Linked DNA regions of Homo sapiens: all the other regions are linked to region 5. Evidence: promoter capture Hi-C in 16 types of primary human blood cells and fetal thymus (Javierre and others, 2016). All regions are on one chromosome and are shown on one strand. The core of a region is centred on a gene start or on the middle of the fragment in contact, and the rest is flanking DNA. Distances in the headings are between cores, read along the strand shown.

What was found. Contacts are between HindIII fragments. The CHiCAGO score rates a contact against its expected background, and 5 or more counts as called.
Region 1: a contact is called between a fragment that was not itself captured here and the fragment with the promoter of IDI1 in region 5, in 1 of 17 cell types (endothelial precursors). The highest score is 5.6, in endothelial precursors.
Region 2: a contact is called between a fragment that was not itself captured here and the fragment with the promoter of IDI1 in region 5, in 1 of 17 cell types (endothelial precursors). The highest score is 7.5, in endothelial precursors.
Region 3: a contact is called between a fragment that was not itself captured here and the fragment with the promoter of IDI1 in region 5, in 1 of 17 cell types (endothelial precursors). The highest score is 5.5, in endothelial precursors.
Region 4: a contact is called between a fragment that was not itself captured here and the fragment with the promoter of IDI1 in region 5, in 1 of 17 cell types (fetal thymus). The highest score is 5.1, in fetal thymus.

What each region holds. Positions count from the first base shown.
Region 1 is chr10:3,089,348-3,093,480 of GRCh38, reverse strand. All of the region lies in intron 2 of PFKP (phosphofructokinase, platelet), which reads right to left. Among named protein-coding and RNA genes, the nearest start is that of PFKP, 24 kb to the right of the region's middle. RefSeq lists enhancers at 190-309, 279-1,076, 1,931-2,130, 1,611-2,810. The HindIII fragment of the contact is 2,141 bases long and covers 1,373-3,513 here.
Region 2 is chr10:3,047,874-3,051,394 of GRCh38, reverse strand. No RefSeq gene overlaps it. Among named protein-coding and RNA genes, the nearest start is that of PFKP-DT, 17 kb to the left of the region's middle. RefSeq lists enhancers at 3,253-3,521, 3,144-3,521. The HindIII fragment of the contact is 6,297 bases long and covers 1-3,521 here.
Region 3 is chr10:3,073,063-3,077,045 of GRCh38, reverse strand. All of the region lies in intron 1 of PFKP (phosphofructokinase, platelet), which reads right to left. Among named protein-coding and RNA genes, the nearest start is that of PFKP, 7.5 kb to the right of the region's middle. RefSeq lists enhancers at 1-324, 325-889, 3,096-3,597. The HindIII fragment of the contact is 3,467 bases long and covers 875-3,983 here.
Region 4 is chr10:3,166,458-3,170,410 of GRCh38, reverse strand. PITRM1 (pitrilysin metallopeptidase 1) reads left to right here. Exons shown (of 27, transcript NM_014889.4): 2 at 205-307; 3 at 3,369-3,475. Among named protein-coding and RNA genes, the nearest start is that of PITRM1, 4.3 kb to the left of the region's middle. RefSeq lists an enhancer at 964-1,013. The HindIII fragment of the contact is 3,737 bases long and covers 4-3,740 here.
Region 5 is chr10:1,047,329-1,050,922 of GRCh38, reverse strand. IDI1 (isopentenyl-diphosphate delta isomerase 1) reads left to right here and starts at 1,804. Exons shown (of 5, transcript NM_004508.4): 1 at 1,804-2,059. The coding sequence starts at 1,920. RefSeq lists enhancers at 1,156-1,295, 967-1,496, 1,756-1,805, 1,497-2,026, 2,027-2,557 and silencers at 1,896-2,115, 2,126-2,215. The HindIII fragment of the contact is 1,083 bases long and covers 789-1,871 here.

The sequences.
Region 1 (4,133 bases), core at 1,194-3,693, 2.0 Mb before region 5:
GGCATGGGCTCTGGTAAAGACCCTGTAGAGTCAGGTCGGGAACAGCTACACGTAAGAAACTGCACAGTGCTGTGCTCAAGCATCACTTATTTTTAGACAGAAGTGGAGTGGTTGAGTAGTTTTCACTTCAAGGAAGTTAATGGGCAGAAATAGTTATGTTTAAAACATCAAAGAGATGTGACTGAACGGGATGTGGACAACCTTGCTTGGTCTTTCAACACTGTTGGGGGAAGGTGGGGGTGACAGTCAGGGATGGGAGGGGTGAGACAGAGATTTAAAAAAAAAAAAATCAGACACAGTCCCAGAAGTCAGGGCCAATGCTGTCACCTGCTCTTTGTCTTGCCAACTAGTTTCCACGGCCAGCCCCTTCCACACATCCCAGGAGCGGGAGCTCAGGCTTCCGTGGTCACCCCCATCCACACATCCCAGGAGTTCAGGCTTCTGTGGCCACCCCCTTCCACACATCCCAGGAGCAGGAGCTCAGGCTTCCATGGCCACCCCCCTACCCCCATCCACACATCCCAGGAGCTCAGGCTTCCGTGGCCACCCCCATCTACACATCCCAGCAGCTCAGGCATCCTCCAGATTAGGAGAGGTCCCCCACACCCCTTTCCTCAGACAGGGGAGCACCAGCACTTCTGGGGAAAAGGTGTTTATTTTGGGTCACAAGTGTGAGATTTCTCACTTTAAAAATTGTAAAAGCAGGAGCTTCATTTTAACCCAAAAGAAATATTTCCTATGGCTAATGAAGAATGAAGGGTTTCTATCAGGAAGGGAAAGGTTTTTTTCCCCCATATTTTTTCAATTTTATTGACACATATAATTTTACATATTTGTGGGGTACATGTGAGTATCTGTTGCATGCACAGAACCTGTAATGACCAAATTAGGGTACTGGGGTGTCTGTCACCCTGGGTATTTTTAACTTCAACCCATTCAGAACATTTCCAGTCCTCTCCCCCAGCTGCTCTGAAATACATTAATATAATACGCTGTTGCTAACACAGCCAGCCTACTCCGCTATCAACACTGGAACCTACTCCTATCTAAGCATATGTTTGCACCCATCCACCTCTCTGCATCCCCTCCTGTCCACACCCCCTTCCCAGCCTCTGCTATCTACATCCTCCTCTCTACCTCCACGAGACCAACTAAAGAAGGGAAGCATGATGCCAATCAATTCATTGATAAGTTAATGGTTTGTTTATTGGTATAGTAAGTCAAGCTGTAATGCTCAGGGCTGAAACAAGGGAAGCTAAGATCACATGCTGATATTTCAAGCTCAGAAGGGTTGGCCAGTCTGGGTGCAGGGACAGGGCTGCTGACCGGGGGCCATGGGGAGATGGAGACCCTCGGGCACCTGAGCTAAGCTTGGGGGCCGGTGGCGGGGGTCAGGTGGCACAGGCTCCATGGCAGCACATCTGGGAAGACCAGAGGCTGGATGCTGATGCTGTACCAACACCCTTTATCCTTTCAACATAAAAAGGCATCACTTATCTGACACCTTTTGAATGTGTTATTTTTAATCATGGAAAAAACTAGCGATAAAATGATCAGAATTATTCCTAGCCTTTCTTTAGGGTGTGGACTATGACAAAGACAGCTCTGATATTGTTTACAAACAGCTGTCTAGAGCAGAACCAAACTTTAAAACAAACAAAAAATTAAGATAAAAGACTTTTTTCTTTTTCTTTTTTGACACAGTCTCGCTCTGTCACCCAGGCTGGAATGCAGTGGCGCAATCTAGGTTCACTGCAACCTCCACCTCCTGAGTTCAAGCCTCAGCCTTCCAAGGATTACACCACGCCCAGCTACCTGTTGTGTTCTTAGTAGAGACGGAGTTTCGTCATGTTGGCCGCGCTGGTCTTTAACTCCTGACCTCAAAGGATCCATCCGCCTCAGCCTCCCAAAGTACTGGGACTACAAGTATGAGCCACGGTGCTCGGCAAGAATCTTAAGTGAGTCATATTTGAAGAGCTATAATAATATGAACAATTTCTGAAATCTGCAGAAGAATATTCAACAACAGGATATGAAATTCATGAATGAAACCAAATGCAAGGAGCCGACTGTTTCCTGCAGACACAGTGGCAGCCCTGGATTAACCAACTGACTCGCCCCAGCTTGGTTTGGACCCACCAGAGCCAGGGTAGTTTACCCTGGGCATGGCCTTTGGGTCAAAGCATCTGATATACTTAGTATCATCATCTCCAAGAAGCTAAAGCCATTTGTAGGCTTCTAAGGAAAAACCTTAGCTTAAGAGAAAAAAGAAAGAAGCAACAATTGGTTCACCAGGTAGAAAGGAATGGGTTAACTGGCAAACCCTCCCCGAGTCTCCCTGGAATGCAGCCCAAGGCTTGGCATGCTTCACACGTAGGCTTGGCCCAGGTTTATAGGAGCTCAAGCAGCGGCCAGACAGCAGAGGTCCCTCGATGAAGGCCAGGCTTTCAGCAGAAACGCCACTGTTCCCAGGTTAATACTTTCTTCACACATGCACTACTGAAGGAAAAAACAAACCCCTTTAATTAATAGTAACCTGTTTAACTGTCCTGGTCTGTTGGTAACCCAGAGAGCTCTAGGTTAGAAACTAGAGTATAGGTGAAAAAAATCTGTTGGATAAATTACTGAGTCATCCTTAAAAAAATAAAACATAATATCCCCTCAATTTGAGCCCAAATAGGTCTAGAACAGCGGTCCCCCAAAAGAGTGATTTTCCCCCCATAGGACGTTCGCCGATGTTGGAGATACTGTAAGGACATCTTTGACTGTCATGACTATGGGGTAGGTGGACACAGGGGTGCTGCTCCGCATCCTGAGAGTCAAAGGACCGCCCACCAAGAATTGCCCACCCCAGATGCCATCGCCCTGACACTCAGAGAGAAGCCCAGCCTGTGGGTATGACGCAGAGACCAGGCCGGGGAGGGGGCTGAGCCTCTTCAGTGCAGAGCCATCTGTGAATAGATGTGTTCAGGTGCAGACCCCGTTTCCCTACCTGGCCACACACCCATGGAGTCAAAGGCATGCGCGTCTCATCCCTGAAAAGCAGTCAAACAGCTCCTCTGCCCCGTTAGTCTCAGACTTTTCCAAGTCCTTTCTACCAGGGAGACAGGAGGGCAAACACCATTTCTACTGCACAGATGAGCACACAGAAATGAAAGGTTGATTTATGCATCCACAGTCACTGCAGTACGTCCTGCAGGCCCACGATGGCTCACCCAAAACCCAGGTCTGAGAGGCAGGCCAGGACTCAGAAGACTTGGGATTTTAAAAAGCAGGTTTTCTAATGGCTTAAAAATATTCCATTGCGTATATACGCCACATTTTATCCACGCACCCACTGATGGCCACTTAGACTGATTCCACATCTTGATACACAATGGAATATTATTCAGCCAATAAAAAAGAATGAATCCTGTCATTCTGAGCAACATGGATGGAACAGGCAGAAATTAGGTGAAATAAGCCAGGCACAGAAAGACAAATACTGCAATCTCTTACTCATACATTTAAGCTTAAATAAAAAATTGATCTCATGAAGACAGAGTTAGGATTGATCTCGTGGAGACAGAGAACAGAATGATGGTTACCAGAGGCTGGGAAAAGTAGAAGGAAGCAGGGGTGTAAAGAAGGATGGTTAATGGGTAAAAAACAGTTTGAGATAGAAGGAATAAAATCCAGGGATGAGTGATACTATGGAGCGACTACAGTTAATAATGTATAATAATGTTTAATAATATATAATAATGTTATACATAATGTATAACATTGTATACGATATGTATAATACATATATAATTCATATTATACATAATGTATAATAATATATACATAATATATATTCAAAATAATATTTCAAAATAACTAAAAGAGTAAAATTGGAGTGTTCCTAACACAAAGAGATGATTGTTCTTGAGGTGATGGATATGCTACTTACCCTGATTTTATCATGATGCATTGCATGCTTGTATGAGACTATGACATGCATAGAACTCCCCCACAAGCCAGCAGCCCCACTGCTGGGCATATACCCCGAGAAAGGGAATCGGCAGAAAGAGACCTCCGCACTCCTACATTCACTCCCCATCACAACAGCCCAGTGTGGAATCAGCGCCCGTCAGCGGATAAATGGACAA
Region 2 (3,521 bases), core at 68-2,567, 2.0 Mb before region 5:
AAACTGAACTCAATTTTTCATCTGTTCACCTAGTTTTTAGATAATTACAATGAAATACACTTGGAATTTACCACAGCTTAATATGAGGGTCACTATGAGCTATACGACAGGTTTTATGTTTAAAAGTTTGCAACATTTTTTATTGCTCTTTCATTTACAAACTACAGTAAATGCTTTTTTTATGTTTAATTATGAAATATATGACACATAAGAGTCTATAAAACTTGGCTAGTCATGGTGGCTCATGCCTGTAATCCCAGCACTTTGGGATGCTGAGGTGGGTGGATCACCTGAGGTCAGGAGTTCAAGACCAGCCTGACCAACATGGTGAAACCCGTCTCTATTAAAAAAAATACAAAAAGTTAGCGAGCATCATGGCAGGCGCCTGTGATCCCAGCTACTCGGGAGGCTGAGGCGGGAGAGTCGTTTGAACCTGGGAGGCGGAAGTTGCAGTGAGCTGAGATCGCGCCATTGCACTCTAGCCTGGGCTACATGAGCGAAACTCCACCTCAAAAACAAACAAAGAAACGAACAAAACTGAATGCATAATCCTATAGAGTAATAATTGCACTGTTGTCATCATCCTTTAGCATCGAGTGTCTTGAAAGGCTACAATATGCCCTTCCTTGATCACCTGGGTCTCCCTTCTTCACCCATACATAGGACTCATGTGTTAATATTTGTCTTGCTTTTCATAAGGTTTATCATTTCTGTGTATATTATTAAGCAAAGTCATATGGTTTGTGTACTGTATATGGAATAGCAGTGTATTTTTCAGTAATTTCCTTTGTTCACTGTAATTTTTCATTGTTGATGCTTTTAACTGCAGTTCATTTTCACTGTTGTATAATATTGCACAATGTGAGTATGCCAACTTTTTTCCTTGATAGAGGTGTATTTGGATGGCCTTCAGGTGTTTTCTATTTCTACAATCACTGCCTAAATATTCTTGCCCCATATGTGTCTCTTGGACAAGACAGTGCAAGGGCATTTCTGGGGGGACATGCCTGAGAAGGCAAATGTGAGGCCACAGAGCTTTTTATGAAATACAGTCTCTTCACAGCTGCAACAGCAGTGGATACTTTGCCAGCAGTTGATCTTTTCCACCTTTTGGATTTTTGTGGCTCTGCTGAATTTGTTTCTTGAATTATTGGATGTATCCACAGTACTTTGTTTACTTATGTTTTGTAACTTTTTGCACCTGGACTTATCTTCCTTGGAATTTTATGTGGGGAGATATTTTGAGGACAGAGTTGCATTGTTTCAGCAAGGATTTTCTGCTCACATGGGGTAGAGGTGAAGCTAGCAGCCACCTGGTGCCACGTCAATTTGACCCATGCTCTTGATGTCTTCCAGCATGAACTCCTGGAGGACTGTTTCTCACTGGTTCTCAGGGTCAGTGGTTTTCCCTCCACCCATCACCAATGCAGGGACAGGTGCTCTCCTTGCTGCTCCTGCTCTAAGGTGGGCTTTTATTTTAAGTCTAAGATGTCAGATTTCCAACCTCATTTTGGAGAGGCGTCCGGTTTTCTTTCTTATGCCCTGTCCTCTGTGCAACTGTCTAAACAGAAAAAAAATTCCACTTTGGTTCCTGCCAATTCTTTATTGACTGCTGTGGATTCCATCCTTCAATGCCAGCCCAGTCGTGCACTTACAAAGATGTATTTTTGTAGGTTTTATCCAACAACTCAGTTGTTTTATTGGGAAAGCTACTTAGTGTCCCTTATGTTCGAAGTTGGAAGCTCCTGGCAACACCGTAGGTGAGACAGCTGCTCTTCCCCCTTTTCATCATCTTCGTGCTGGGTCCAGGCCTTCTTTGCTCTGTGATTAAGATGCCACAATGGGCTGGGCACAGTGGCTCACGCCTGTAATCCCAGCACTTTAGGAGTCCAAAATGGGTGGATCACCCAAAGCCAGGGATTCAAGACCAGCCTGGCCAACAAGGTGAAGCCCCGTCTCTACTAAAAGTACAAAAAATTAGCCGGGCACAGTGGTGGGCACCTGTAATCCTAGCTACTGCAGAGGCTGAGGCAGGAGAGTCTCTTGAACCAAGGAGGCAGAGGTTGCAGTGAGCCGAGATCATGCCATTGCAGTCCAGCCTGGGCAACAGAGTAAGACTCCATCTCAAAAAAATGTATATGAATAAATAAAAATAAAAATAAATTGCTGCTATAGCCTCTGAACTGCTTGGTCTGCCTCTGGCATCCGTTCTCATGCCCCACATTGGCAGAGATGCGCTCACACCCAGAGGGAAGGCAGGGAGACTGAAGGACTATTATTATTAACAAGAAAGACAAAATTATTCTGAGGACAATGTAATTCTGTTTCCTAGAAATAGTAAAATGCTTTGATAAATTATTAGAATTAACAAAATTCAGTTTAGCACTCATGTTCAAAATGATCACCAACTTTAATATGCCAACAGTAGCCAGACTAAGTAAGAAGAGGGAGTCAGGAGGTCCGCCCACAAGGGCTGGGCCTCTGCATAGAGGGCAGAAAGGTCGACTCACTCTGCAGCCTCCTGCTCCATCAGCATTTTCTGTGGTGACAGCCTGAAACGGCCTGGCCCTCCCTCTCCTGCCTGGGGCCTCCAGCCCAGTCTCAGGGCTGGGCAAGGAATAAGCCCCATTTAGGGCATTTCCTCACTTGACCTTCTTCTGGGCTGAAACGCATTTGCTTTCCAAGTGCTCGTCAGGGAGCCGCACATAGAAGCTCTTGTTTTCTCCCCACTGCTGACTGGTTCTGGGTTCGGGGGTTTTCTCTCCACTGCTGACTGGTTCTGGGTTCGGGGGTTTTCTCTCCACTGCTGACTGGTTCTGGGTTCGGGGGTTTTCTCTCCACTGCTGACTGATTCTGGGTTCGGGGGTTTTCTCCCCACTGGTGACTGATTCTGGGTTGGGGGGCGCCCCCCGTTCCCCGGGCTTCTTGGCCACTGCATCTTTGGCTTTCGCTCCAAGATTTTGACCTCAGTTAAGGATTCAGAAACTTTCTTTTTACACTTTATTCTCAGATTGTTTTTTTAAAAGTCAGGCCAAAAAAAAAAAAAAGACACAGAAAGTGGAGTGAGTCAAGAGTGAGTGTAAAGTTCCGAGGATGAAGCTGAACACGCACGAGCCTCTGTCAGGGTGGTGTCTATGCTCAGGAGCCATGTTCATCCCAGAGCTTCCCAGGACTGAGACCCTAAAAAAAAAAGGAAAAAAAAAAAAAGGAGCATAACAGAAGTAAATGCTAGGATTCTCCATAAGGTCCTTTTTTTTTTTTGGTGAATGGGTTTTTCCCTTAATTTCTAGGCATTTGGCATCATGGAAATAGAACAGCAGCATCTTCTACCTGCAGGGCTGAGATTTTTCGGGTGGACAGAATAAACCAGGGACCCGTATACAGATCAGAGGGTGGGTTGGCAGAAGAGGATGGGCACAGAGGATGTGGGATGATACCAAGCGGCGTTTCTACCATGATGTGTGTGGGATGCGGGGAGGGGAGAGAGAAGCAGGCAGGGAGACAGAGAGAGAGGGGGAGAG
Region 3 (3,983 bases), core at 1,359-3,858, 2.0 Mb before region 5:
CGCTGCTTTGTTAGAAAATGAGCTTACACCGCGCTGATCTCACTACTGCTGCCAAAGTTCCTTCTAGGGGTCTTTCCTTTGATAATGTAGGGATTATGTAGGCATGGGGAGGTGGGATGCCAAAGGCAGATTCTGTCAAGGTGCTGTTCCCTCCCCACCCCTGCCAGTTCAAAGTCATCGAACTGGGGGGCCTCTCTGACCTCCTGGACTGTGCAGACCACCGTGTCTTCTAGTAGGGTCAGGGGAGGGCTTGAGATAAATCTGTAGGGCTCTTCACTCAACCACCAACCCACTGTCCAGCTCGGGTGCCCCAAGTGCCACCTCTGCTGGGCTCTGTGTGGATGCATCAGTGACAAGATGGGAAGCCTCTGGCCCTGGAAGAGCTTGTTCCGATCAGGAGAGACCCGAAAGCAAGAAACACAGTGAACAAATGCATGATGCCCATGGATGGATGGCCGTAAGTGCTAAGGAGAAAAATAACAAGCGGGGTGGGGGGTGTTGAGGGTGTGGAGGACAGGGAGGGGCTGCCATTGACAATCGGAGAGCCTGCAGACCTGCCTGAGAGTGACGTTTGGAGAAAGAAGGAAAGGGAAGAAGTTGAGGGAGTTTAGCCAAATGGACATCTGGGAAAGAGCTCAGGTAGCAGAGGGGCTGGGGCGGGGGCGCGGCGGCAGCATGCTGCATTCCAGGGTCCTCTGCGTGGCTGGGACAGTGTCGGCCCTCCCCTGCACATCCCTCAGAGCCTTCGCAAAAACACCCACATGGGGACCTTCTAAATACAGGCAGCACACGCCACCCATTGCGTGACCACACTGTCCCTCAGAGGAGCCGCTGGCCACGTGCGTCCCGTCCACATGGAGATGTGCTTTAAGCTTCTTTACACACTGGGTTTCAAAGACTTACTACGGAAAACAGTGTAAAATATGAATAATCTACAATAATTGATTGTTATCAAAATAGTGGATTGAATATAAAACATAGTTTTTTGCTTTTACCGGTTTTTACTTTTTTTTTTTTTTTTTTTTTTTGAGACGGAGTCTCGCTCTGTCGCCCAGGCCGGACTGCGGACTGCAGTGGCGCGATCTCGGCTCACTGCAAGCTCCGCTTCCCGGGTTCACTACTTTTTTTTTTTTTTTTTTTTGCGATAGGGTCTCACTCTGTTGCCCAGGCTGGAGTGAACTGGTGCAGTCACAGCTCACTGCGGCCTCCAACTCCTGGGCTCAGGCAATCCTCCCACCTCAATCTCCCACGGGGCTGGGACTGTAGGTGTGCACCGCCACGCCTGACTAATTGTTTTGTATTTTTTGTAGAGACTAGGTCTTGCCATGTTGCCCAGGCTGGCCTCAAACTCCTGGGCTCAAGTGATCCACCTGCCTTGGGCTCCTGAAGGGCTGGGATTACAGATGTTGAGTCTTGGCACCCAGAGTCCCCCACTCCCGGCCCCCTGCCCCGCCTTTCTTTAATGCGGCAACTAGATCATTTAAAATTGCATATATAACACAGGCCACCCACATGCAAGCCTCACTCTTGGGAGATTCTCCCGTTGGAGAAACCTCCAAGAAGCTGATCTGCCTGGATTTGCAAACTGCCCCACTGGCTCCAGAGGGAAGCCGCTCTGGAATCGGCTCTTCAATACTGCCCTTGAGTATACTGTGTACCTCTTGACTTTCGACCAGCACAAAGCTCCTTATTAAACGCTGACAAAAATTCCTTCCATTCTGTTGGGAGCAGGCCCCCCCAAATCTGGCCATAAACTGACCCTAAAACTGGCCATAAACAAAATCTCTGCAGCACTGTGACACGTTCATAACGGCCCTAACGCCCAGGCTGGAAGGTTGTGGGTTTATGGGAATGAGGGCAAGGAGCACCTGGCCCACCCAGGGTGGAAAACTGCTTAAAGGCATTCTTAAGCCACAAGCAGTAGCATGAGATATGTGCCTTAAGGACATGCTCCTGCTGCAGTTAACTAGCCCAACCTATTCCTTTAATTTGGCCCATCCCTTCATTTCCCATAAGGGATACTTTTAGTTAATTTGATATCTGTAGAAACAATGCTGATGACTGGCTTGCTGTTAATAAACACGTGGGTAAATCTCTGTTCTGGGCTCTCGGCTCTGAAGGCTGTGAGACCACGGATTTCCCACTTCACACCTCTATTTGTGTGTGTGTGTCTTTAATTCCTCTAGCGCCGCTGGGTTACGGTCTCCCCGACTGAGCTGGTCTCGGCACATTCCAGGTGCCATAATGGAATTAATTAATCTCCTATTGATAGTTTTTTGCTGGTTTTCCCACTTTTTGCTATTCTAAGCACTGCTATGAAGATTCTCCTTTAACCCCCACCTGCCTGTGTCTGTTGGAGCTCACATGCTCTACCTTCCAGCTGTAACAGCTGAGTGCCCATTCACCCCAAGCCCTGACACACTCAAGTCTCTGGGTCCCCTTGGCGGGATGTGTCTGTGGACACAGGGCTGCCCTGCCACGTGCCCCACCCCATAACCTTCCATCTGTGGCCTGCTCCTTGTGATACCCTAAACTTGTGGCCTCCCCTCCCCTCCTCTCCTCTCCACAAAGCCACCCTTATCGGAGACAGTCAGTCTGCTTCCCTCCACCTGCTTCCCAGTTCACCCAAGGCAAAGCCAAAGTCCTCCACTGGGCCACTCTCCTCTACGGACTCCTCCCTCACTGTCAGGTCAGGTCAAAGGGCCCCAACCAGAGGTTCCCCTGGGCCCTTTCATAAGACAGGAGCTTTTCCTCTCAGGTCAGGCTACAGGCACGTCGTACCCGCACCTCACCACAGGAGTGACAGCTCCAGGCAGAAAGGGCCTGGTTCTTTTGCCAAAATCCTGTCCTGACTCACCCAAGGCAGTCTGTTAACATGCACAATGATTACAGAAACACAGAAATAAGGCTGGGTGCAGTGGCTCCAGCCTGTAATACCAGCACTTTGGGAGGCCAAGGCAGGTGGATCACTTGAGGTCAGGAGTTCGAGACCAGCCTGACCAACACGGTGAAACCCATCTCTACTAACGATACAAAAAAGATCAGGTGAGCATGGTGGCGCATGCCTGTAATCCCAGCTACTTGGGAGGCTGGGACAGGAAAATCGCTTGAACTCAGGAGGCGGAGGTTGCAGTGAGCCGACATCAAGCCACTGCACTCCAGGCTGGGCAAGAGGGCAAGATCCCGTCTCAAAAACAAACAAACAAACAAACAAAAAAAACACACACACACACAGAAATAAAATCTTAATCGTAGTAAGACACAGCTGAAAAGATATGAAGGACTGACTCCCCGAGGCTACTGCATGCCACCCTTTCAATCATTTTCCATTCAGGAAACTTCGGATCAGATCATTTACATATGTACGTTTAGACAAGGGGTCCTATATTAATGAATCTTCTCTGTCAAAATCCTGGTCAAAGTCAGAAAACAATCCCATGGGACTCCTGGGAGCATCTCACATTGGGGAAACCTGGAGAAGTGGAGAAGCTGATCTGCCCGATTTGCAAACCGCTCCACTGGCCCCAGGGGGTCCAGCAGCACCGGTGCCCTCCCCGTGAGAGTCGGAGCCTCACTCAGACCCACACAGTCAGGATCTACACCTCCGCAGGCTCCCCTAGGCATCTCTGGGCACACGGAGGCTGGGAAAATAGCACACGGGCCCTGGGGTTGGGGGTCCCAGCACAGTCCAGCCTATTCTCTTTTCCTCCTGAACACTTTCACTGTGGATATGTGTTAGGGAAGAGGGGAGGGAAGACAGAGACAGGGAGAGGAGACAGAGACTGAGTGATGCCTCCATTCTGCAGAGGAAAACATCAAGACCCTATCTCAGCACTCAGCACTCAGCACCCTGCTGACCCAGACAGCAGGACCAGGGCTAGGACCTATAAATGTCTCTGCCTCTCAGTGCTCTGGTCTGCCATGTGTCTGGCTGCCTCTTACATCCTGACAAGCACAATGACTGTAATTCCAAACACAGGACT
Region 4 (3,953 bases), core at 623-3,122, 2.1 Mb before region 5:
GCTTTAGTTAAGATAAAGATCATTAAAATGGAAAGGACCTTACCAGAAATCAGTTTTCTGGAATGTGCAAGACTTTGGAAGATGCAATATTTAATTTTTCTTTAATAATCTTTATTACATGAGAGTATTTTCACTATGTGGCTGAATAATGTTAGCCAGATACTTTTCCTGCAACTCATCTAACTTAGATGACTTTTAATCTAGACATGCACACCACAGAGCGTGGCGATGGAACAGTAACCGGGCTTGTGAGAGGGCTCTGCAGTATAAACTAGGAGACAAGATCCATGGATTCACCGTAAACCAGGTATGGGTCGTCCTCGGCACCTCCTTATAAATCCACATACATTGCAGGTGCGGCTTCTGGCCTATGTACGGAGCCCTTCAGGGCGGAGACTAGCGTTTTTGTCCTTGTGTCCCAAGGCCCTGGCCCAGCTCCTGCTGTGTGGCAGCTACTCGGCTGAACAGAGCTTGTGAGTGAAATGAGCCCCAGTCCCTTCCTGGAATCCCGCAAAGCCTGGTTCTTGTGAGATTTTAGAGAGTAACACTTCCAGCTGGGTCTCTGTAATCAGACACACTAGCGTTTCTGCAGCCAAACCTGATGTTTCACTGAGCATGAGCATGAAGACTCACTGCCCTGATCTGTTTAGTCAGGTTTTGCCATCAAATAGCTTGCTCTAAACGTCCGCAGAACCTTTCAGTTTTCTGAGCCATTCGGGTTTCAGAATGATAAAGAAGCAATTGTGGACCTGTACTTACTTGGGTCTGTATTAAAATAGATTCATTTGGTTTTTGTTTTGTTATTTTGCCTAAACCTTTTGCATTGTTTCTATTTAGCATGGTAACTGAAAATGACACGCTTCATGTATTTGGCCAGCTGTTGGCTTTGTGCTATGCTTGATGTTATAGCAAACGTGAAAGACAAACAGCTTACTGTCTAGAAAGACTGCTGCGGCTGTGACCGGAGGCACATGGTGGACGCCACGCGGAGGGCCAAGGACAAGGGCAGGAGGAGGAGTGGGAGCTGCTGCTGCTGGGGGCAGAGGGAAGAGCTCCTGGAGAGGGTGGTGTGAGAACGTGGCTGCCTTCGGTCAGGGCTCCAGCAAGGGAGCCAGGGCAGTGACTAGGGTGCGCCAGACAAGGTCCAGGCATGGGACTCATGAAAAGACTTGGAGCGTTTGTGAAATCCTGCAAAGGCCAGGCAAAGACACTTGGGTTTATGGTACAGGTTACTGTTAATAAGGGCCTCACCCACAGCGGTAGATTCTCCTCCTTTATTTCTCAAATTTTATAGAAACGTATTTACTTTTGAGACTGGGACTCACCCTGTCGCCCAGGCTGGAGTGTGGTGGTATGATCTTGGCTCACTGCAGCCTCGAACTCCTGGGCTCAAGCGATCCTCTTGCCAAGTAGCTGGGACAAGGTGCCACCACGCCTGGCTAATTGTGTGTGTGTGTGTGTGTGTGTGTGTGTGTGTGTGTGTGTGTGTGTGTGTAGATGGAAACTTTGTTGCCTAGACTGGTCTCAAACTCCTGGGTTCAAGCAATCCTTTTGCTTGTGTATTAGTCTAGTCTCACACTGCTATGAAGAAATACCCAAGACTGGGTAATTTATAAAGTATGAGCTAAAAAGTGAAGAGGTTTAATTGACTCACAGTTCTGCATGGCTGGGGAGGCCTCAGGAAACACAATCGTGGTGGAAGGCATCTCTTCACAGGGCGGCAGGGGAGAGAATGAGGATCAAGTGAAGGGGGAAGCCCCTTATAAAACCGTCAGCTCTCATGAGAACGTGCTCACTGTCACGAGAATAACATGGAGGAAACCGCCCTCTTGATTCAATTACCTCCCACCAGGTCCCTCCCACAACATGTGGGGATTATGGAAACTACAATTCAAGATGAGATTTGGGTGGGGACACAGCCAAACCATATCACCTTGGCCTTCCAAAGTGCTGGGATTATAGGTGTGAGCCACTGTGTCCAGCCATAGAAACTTACGATAAGTCATGATTCTTGTTTGAGAAATAGCTACCATGAAAGCTATTATTATTAAAGCTATATATTATTAGAAAGCAAACATCTCACTGTATCTGCTGACTTCAAAAGCATTGATCATCTGTTACAAAGTACAGTGAGCTTGGAAACAGAAGTAATTTCGCGGCGGTAGATGATGCAGGTCATAGTGGTCTGCTTTATGCATGACTGTTGCGTGGCAGGCTCCCTAGATTGGGCTGAGGAGACCCGAGGTCTGACCTTGGCCAGCGACTTACTGTGTGCGCTTGGCCAGGTGACTCATGGCACCTGGCAGGAGGGGGTGGTGAGTGGTGTGGTGATCACAGGGACGTGGTGTGTGATTGAGGGAGAGGGCCGGCTGGCATGACTGGAAGAGAAGACAGTTTCTTTCATACCGAGGAGTATGGTCACTTACCAGGAGGCTTACCTAAAGTAGGAGATGACCTTCCACGCCGCCCCAGGAGTGGGGAGTCTTTCGTCTGTCTTGTGGGCATTTCTATCCTCCCGGCCCCTCCAGCTGTTCTGGAAGCCACAGCTTTGTGCTTCTAGCTACCACCGAGAACCCATCCTAAACTAAGAGAAGCAAAGGCTGATCCTAGAGCCTCTCCCTGCTGTCGCAGGCTAGCCCACTCTAGCATTTCCCCTCCTTGCAGGCCCGTTCTGCGCACTACAGGAGATGATATGCACAGAAACAGACACACAGCCAACGTTGGAAGGGGTGCTGTGTTACTGAGGCGCAGCACACAAAAGCAGGAGACACTCAGCAGACATTGGAAGGGGCGCTGTGTTACTGAGGCACAGCACACAAAAGCAGGAGACACTCAGCAGACATTGGAAAGGGCGCTCTGTTACTTAGGTGCAGCATGGTACCATGGGAAGGGCAGACACCAGGGTGAATCCTGGCTCTGTGATTTAGGCAGCTTATTTCATCACCCTGAGCCTCGGTTTTTTCGTCTGTAAATGAGTATGAGAATACCTCCCTCACAGGATTATATGTGACATGATTAGAAAATGCCTAGCCAAAAAAAGAATAAAAAATTTAAAAAATAAAAAAATCTAAAATACCTAGCCAGTAGTAAGCGCGTGCGCTCTCGCGCTCGCTCGCTCGCTCGCTCTCTCTCTCTTTCTATACACACACACACATATTCTCATCTGCCTTTTTTAGGTCTGTCTTTCCTTGTTTGTAGGATAAGGGACCTGGACAAGATGGTTCTCTTCTCTCCAGCTCTGAAATACTGCCTTCCCGGCATCATCTAATTTCAGGCAGAAAAGCCAGTTTTCTCAGTGTGTCGAACATAACCATTTCAAAGGCCATTTTGTCTAAGTTTAACTGGTCGTGTTTTTCTTGTTAACTCAGGTGACATCTGTTCCCGAGCTGTTCCTGACTGCAGTGAAGCTCACCCATGATGACACAGGAGCCAGGTATTTACACCTGGCCAGAGAAGACACGAATAATCTGTTCAGGTGTGTGGTGCATTGTAAGAACATGGTCTTGAATGTTTTTATTTAAATCAGGAATGTCCATTCTTTTGGCTTCCCTGTGCCACAATGGAAGAAGAACAACTGTCTTAGGCCACGCATAAAATACACTAACACTAAGGACAGCTGATGAGCTAAAAATAATAAATAAAGGACCCCTCAATGTTTTAAGAAAGTGTATGAATTTGTGTTGGGCTGCATTTCAAGCCATCCTGAGCATGCGGGCTGCAGGCTGCGGGTTGGACAAGCTTGATTTAAAACATGGCTATACATTACGTGGTTTAAAATATCATCTCACTAGTATTTTTATTGACAGAGCATCTTGAAAAATAAGGAAAAGTTTACACTGACTTATAATCTCATCAAAATACAATTTTACAGTCTGAGTCAATGATTTACATTATAGTTGGAAAACCCTGTGCTGGAGGATTGTGGTGTCAGAATGATGATTTCTAGTAGCCTG
Region 5 (3,594 bases), core at 555-3,054:
TCAATTTTCAAACTGCATACAGCAGGTGCTCATTCATTTCTTTGTAACATTGATGAGAAAAAGACTCCCAGCCAGGGGCACTGTCTTTGTGGTGTTTACGTGTTCTCGCCACACCTGCATAGGTTTTCTCTGGGTGCTGCAGTTCTTGCCACATCCCAGAGGTGTGCACGTGAGGTGAACTGGTGTGTCTTCACTGTCCCAGTCTGAGTGTGGGTGTGTGAGTGGCCCTGTGATGGAATGGCGTCCTGTCCAGGGCTGGTTCCCTCTTTGTGCCCTGAGCTACTGAAACAGGCTTCAGCTACACATGACCCAGAACTGGAATAATTAAGTAATAATTATCTTTTTATTCATCTTTCTTAAATGTATGTATAGCTCACATTTATTTCAATGTTTAATATTAGAATACTTTGGCCTTTAGAAGCTTAGTGATTTTTTTTTTCCTTGGCCAGAAGTATGCTTTAGGAACTTAATCCTTATTTTTTAGCCTCTGGTAAAATTGGTTTTGCTATACGTTGTTTCACTTAAAAGTCCTGATTCCCAAGAACGCACTGACAGCAGTGAGGACTTGCTGCGCATGCGGGAGGCCAGATTTTCTTATCTGTGTGAAGCCAGACATGAAAGAGATCTGTCAACACATAAAACAAAATCAAAGTCTGTTTTTTGTCTGGAAAAGATTTTTAATAAAAATATAACTTATGTTAGTGTCGTGTGTTTTTTAAGTGAATATTTTAATATGTTTAATTTCTATGTTAGTAAATAGCAGTAGTAAACAACAGTGAGCAAAAGCTTTTAGGTGTCCTCAGTACATTTTAAGAGAGTGCAAGCGTCCTGTGACCAAGAAGTTTGAGAACTGGTGCCCACCAGGTTCATCTCACAAGTTCAGTATTTTAAATTCCACACAAAAGGTAGAGGAAATAGCTGAATTCGCTTCAGCTGCGCATACATTTCACGATTATTTAAAAGTTTAGAGGGCTAGGCGCGGTGGCTCACACCCGGAATCTCAGCACTTCGGTAAGCTGAGCCAGGTGGATCACTTGAGGTCAGGAGTTCCAGACCAGCCTGACCAACATGCGGAAACCCGTCTCTACTAAAAATACGAAATAAGCCGGGCGTGGTGGCGCATGCCTGTAATTCCAGCTACTTGGGAGGCTGAGACGGGACAATTGCCTGAACCCGGGCGGCGGAGGTTGCTGTGAGCGGAGACTGCACCATTGCACTCAAGCCTGGGCAACAAGAATGAAACTGTCTCAAAAAAAAAAAATTTAGAACGTAGTCATGTACCTCGAAAGCGAACACTCCCAACATAGCGTGGAACACCCCACACCCCCGGCGACTTTGCTCCGCCTTGGTCCCGGTCGCAGACACCGCAGAAAGGCCATCGTTCTAGACATACGAGAACTCCCCGTGCAGCCAAACGCTGTAGTCCCAGCGGCGGAACTCGGGGGGGGGGAGGGGGGGGAGTGCCCAACCAGCCAGTCAGCAGTGACGTCCCGCCTTTCCTCCGTTTCCATTGGTCCAGCCATGCGGAGGTCGCTCCCATGGGACGCCGAGCTTCCGGCTGCAGGGCTTGGCGCCCGGGCGCTTTCGGATTGGGAGGGCTTCCTCCATGGAACGCGAGCCTCGAGACGTCTGACGTTAGGCACCGTTCGCAGCGCCTCGGGCTCGCACGGCAGGATCGAAAGCGTGATTGGCTGGCGGCGTCTGTGGTCTCGGGCACCGCCCAGTCGCGGGACGCTGCCTCTGCGGAACTGGGGGTGGGGCGTGTTGACCCCCTTAAAGGCGCCAGAGCCCGCGGTCACGGCTCAGGTTCCCGGTGCTTCGCGCGTCTGCCGTTGTCACAGGCCAGGGAGGTGGCACCACCAGGCGAAGCTTGGCGAGATTGTGTCGTCAAGCGCGTACGGGCGCCAATTGGCCGGGCGATGTGGCGTGGACTGGCGCTGGCGCGAGCGATTGGCTGCGCGGCCCGGGGGCGGGGCCAGTGGGCGGTGCGCGCCGCAGACTGTGCTCAAAGCGGGCGCCATCCGGGACCGGCGGTTGTCTGTGGCCGGAGGCTGATCAGGTACTGTGGACGGGCGGCGGAGTTCGGGAGACAGGGGCAGGGCGGCATCGGGGAGCTGCGGGACGGGGCGGGGAGGAGGCCCGAGGTCTGAGCCACCCGTGAGGTCTCGGCGCGGAGGCCTGGACAGCTGGGGGTGGCGGCGTTGGTCTCCCGAACTGGAGGGAGGCCGGGCCTTCCCGGGCTGTGGTGGGCGCCCGCGCCCCGTGGAAGGCGGAGGCGTGAGTCGGGGCGTCAGAGACGTTGCCATTCTTTGTCAGCGGAAAAGATCGTCGTCTGCGCACAGTCACCTGAGGTTTAGGAACTCGTGGAACTGGAAACCGAGTCGCAGGAGACTAAGAGTTGCGAGTCTCCCCTTAGAGAATTCAGAAACAAGCGTAGACAGCATCGTCAGAAACACGAGCGTGACGACACCGGCCTCCCCGTGCCGAGTCCACGCGTGTGACGCGGGTGCATACACCTGCGTCCGTGCAAGAGGGTGACAGCAACACACTCAAGGCGCTTCTCCTGGGAATGGAGCAGGAGAAGAGATGGGGAGCATCGCATAGATGGAACTAGACCTTTTTCTTGGGTTGGATGATGTGTTCCCGCGTCTACTACATGGTATTCTTTAAACGCATAAATAGACGTATTCATTTTATCTTGTGATTATGCAGCTTAGCTTTAAAATCTGAATTCTGAAAATCCTGAAAGAGCAATTGTCATTACAGCTGGGCGGTGGTGCACGCCTTTAATCCCAGCACTTTGGGAGGCGGAGTCGAAGGCTGCAGTGAGCCGAGATCGCGCCACTGCACTCCAGCTTGGGCGACAGACATAGCAAGACCCAGCCCCATCCCCCCGGAAAAAAAGTCATGTCAAAAAGTCTAGTAATTATGTAGTAACGAAACCTATCTTAGTGATCACCTAATATACAGTTGGCCTACTGTATCCTTGGGGTCCATATCCATGGATTTAACCAACTGCACATTATAAAATATTTGGAAAAAAATTTCATCTGTACTGAACATATACAGACTTATTCTGTAAACAATACAGCACAACTATTTATGTAGGATTTACATGTTTTAGATACTATAAGAGATCATCTACAGATGATAATTTAACGTTCGGCCCGCATCACTTAACAGGGATACTTTGGAGAAGTTCATTGTTAGGTACTTTCATCATTGTGGAAGCAGAGTGCGCTGACGCAGACCTAGACAGTGGAGCAGCTGGGCTGTGTGGTGTAGACAGACGGTGGAGCAGCTGGGCTGTGTGGTGTAGACAGTGGAGCAGCTGGGCTGTGTGGTGTAGACAAAGGACCAGACAGTGGAGCAGCTGGGCTGTGTGGTGTAGACAGTGGAGCAGCTGGGCTGTGTGGTGTAGACAGTAGACAGTGGAGCAGCTGGGCTGTGTGGTGTAGACAGTGGAGCAGCTGGGCTGTGTGGTGTAGACAGTGGAGCAGCTGGGCTGTGTGGTGTAGACAGTGGAGCAGCTGGGCTGTGTGGTGTAGACAGTGGAGCAGCTGGGCTGTGTGGTGTAGACAGTGGAGCAGCTGG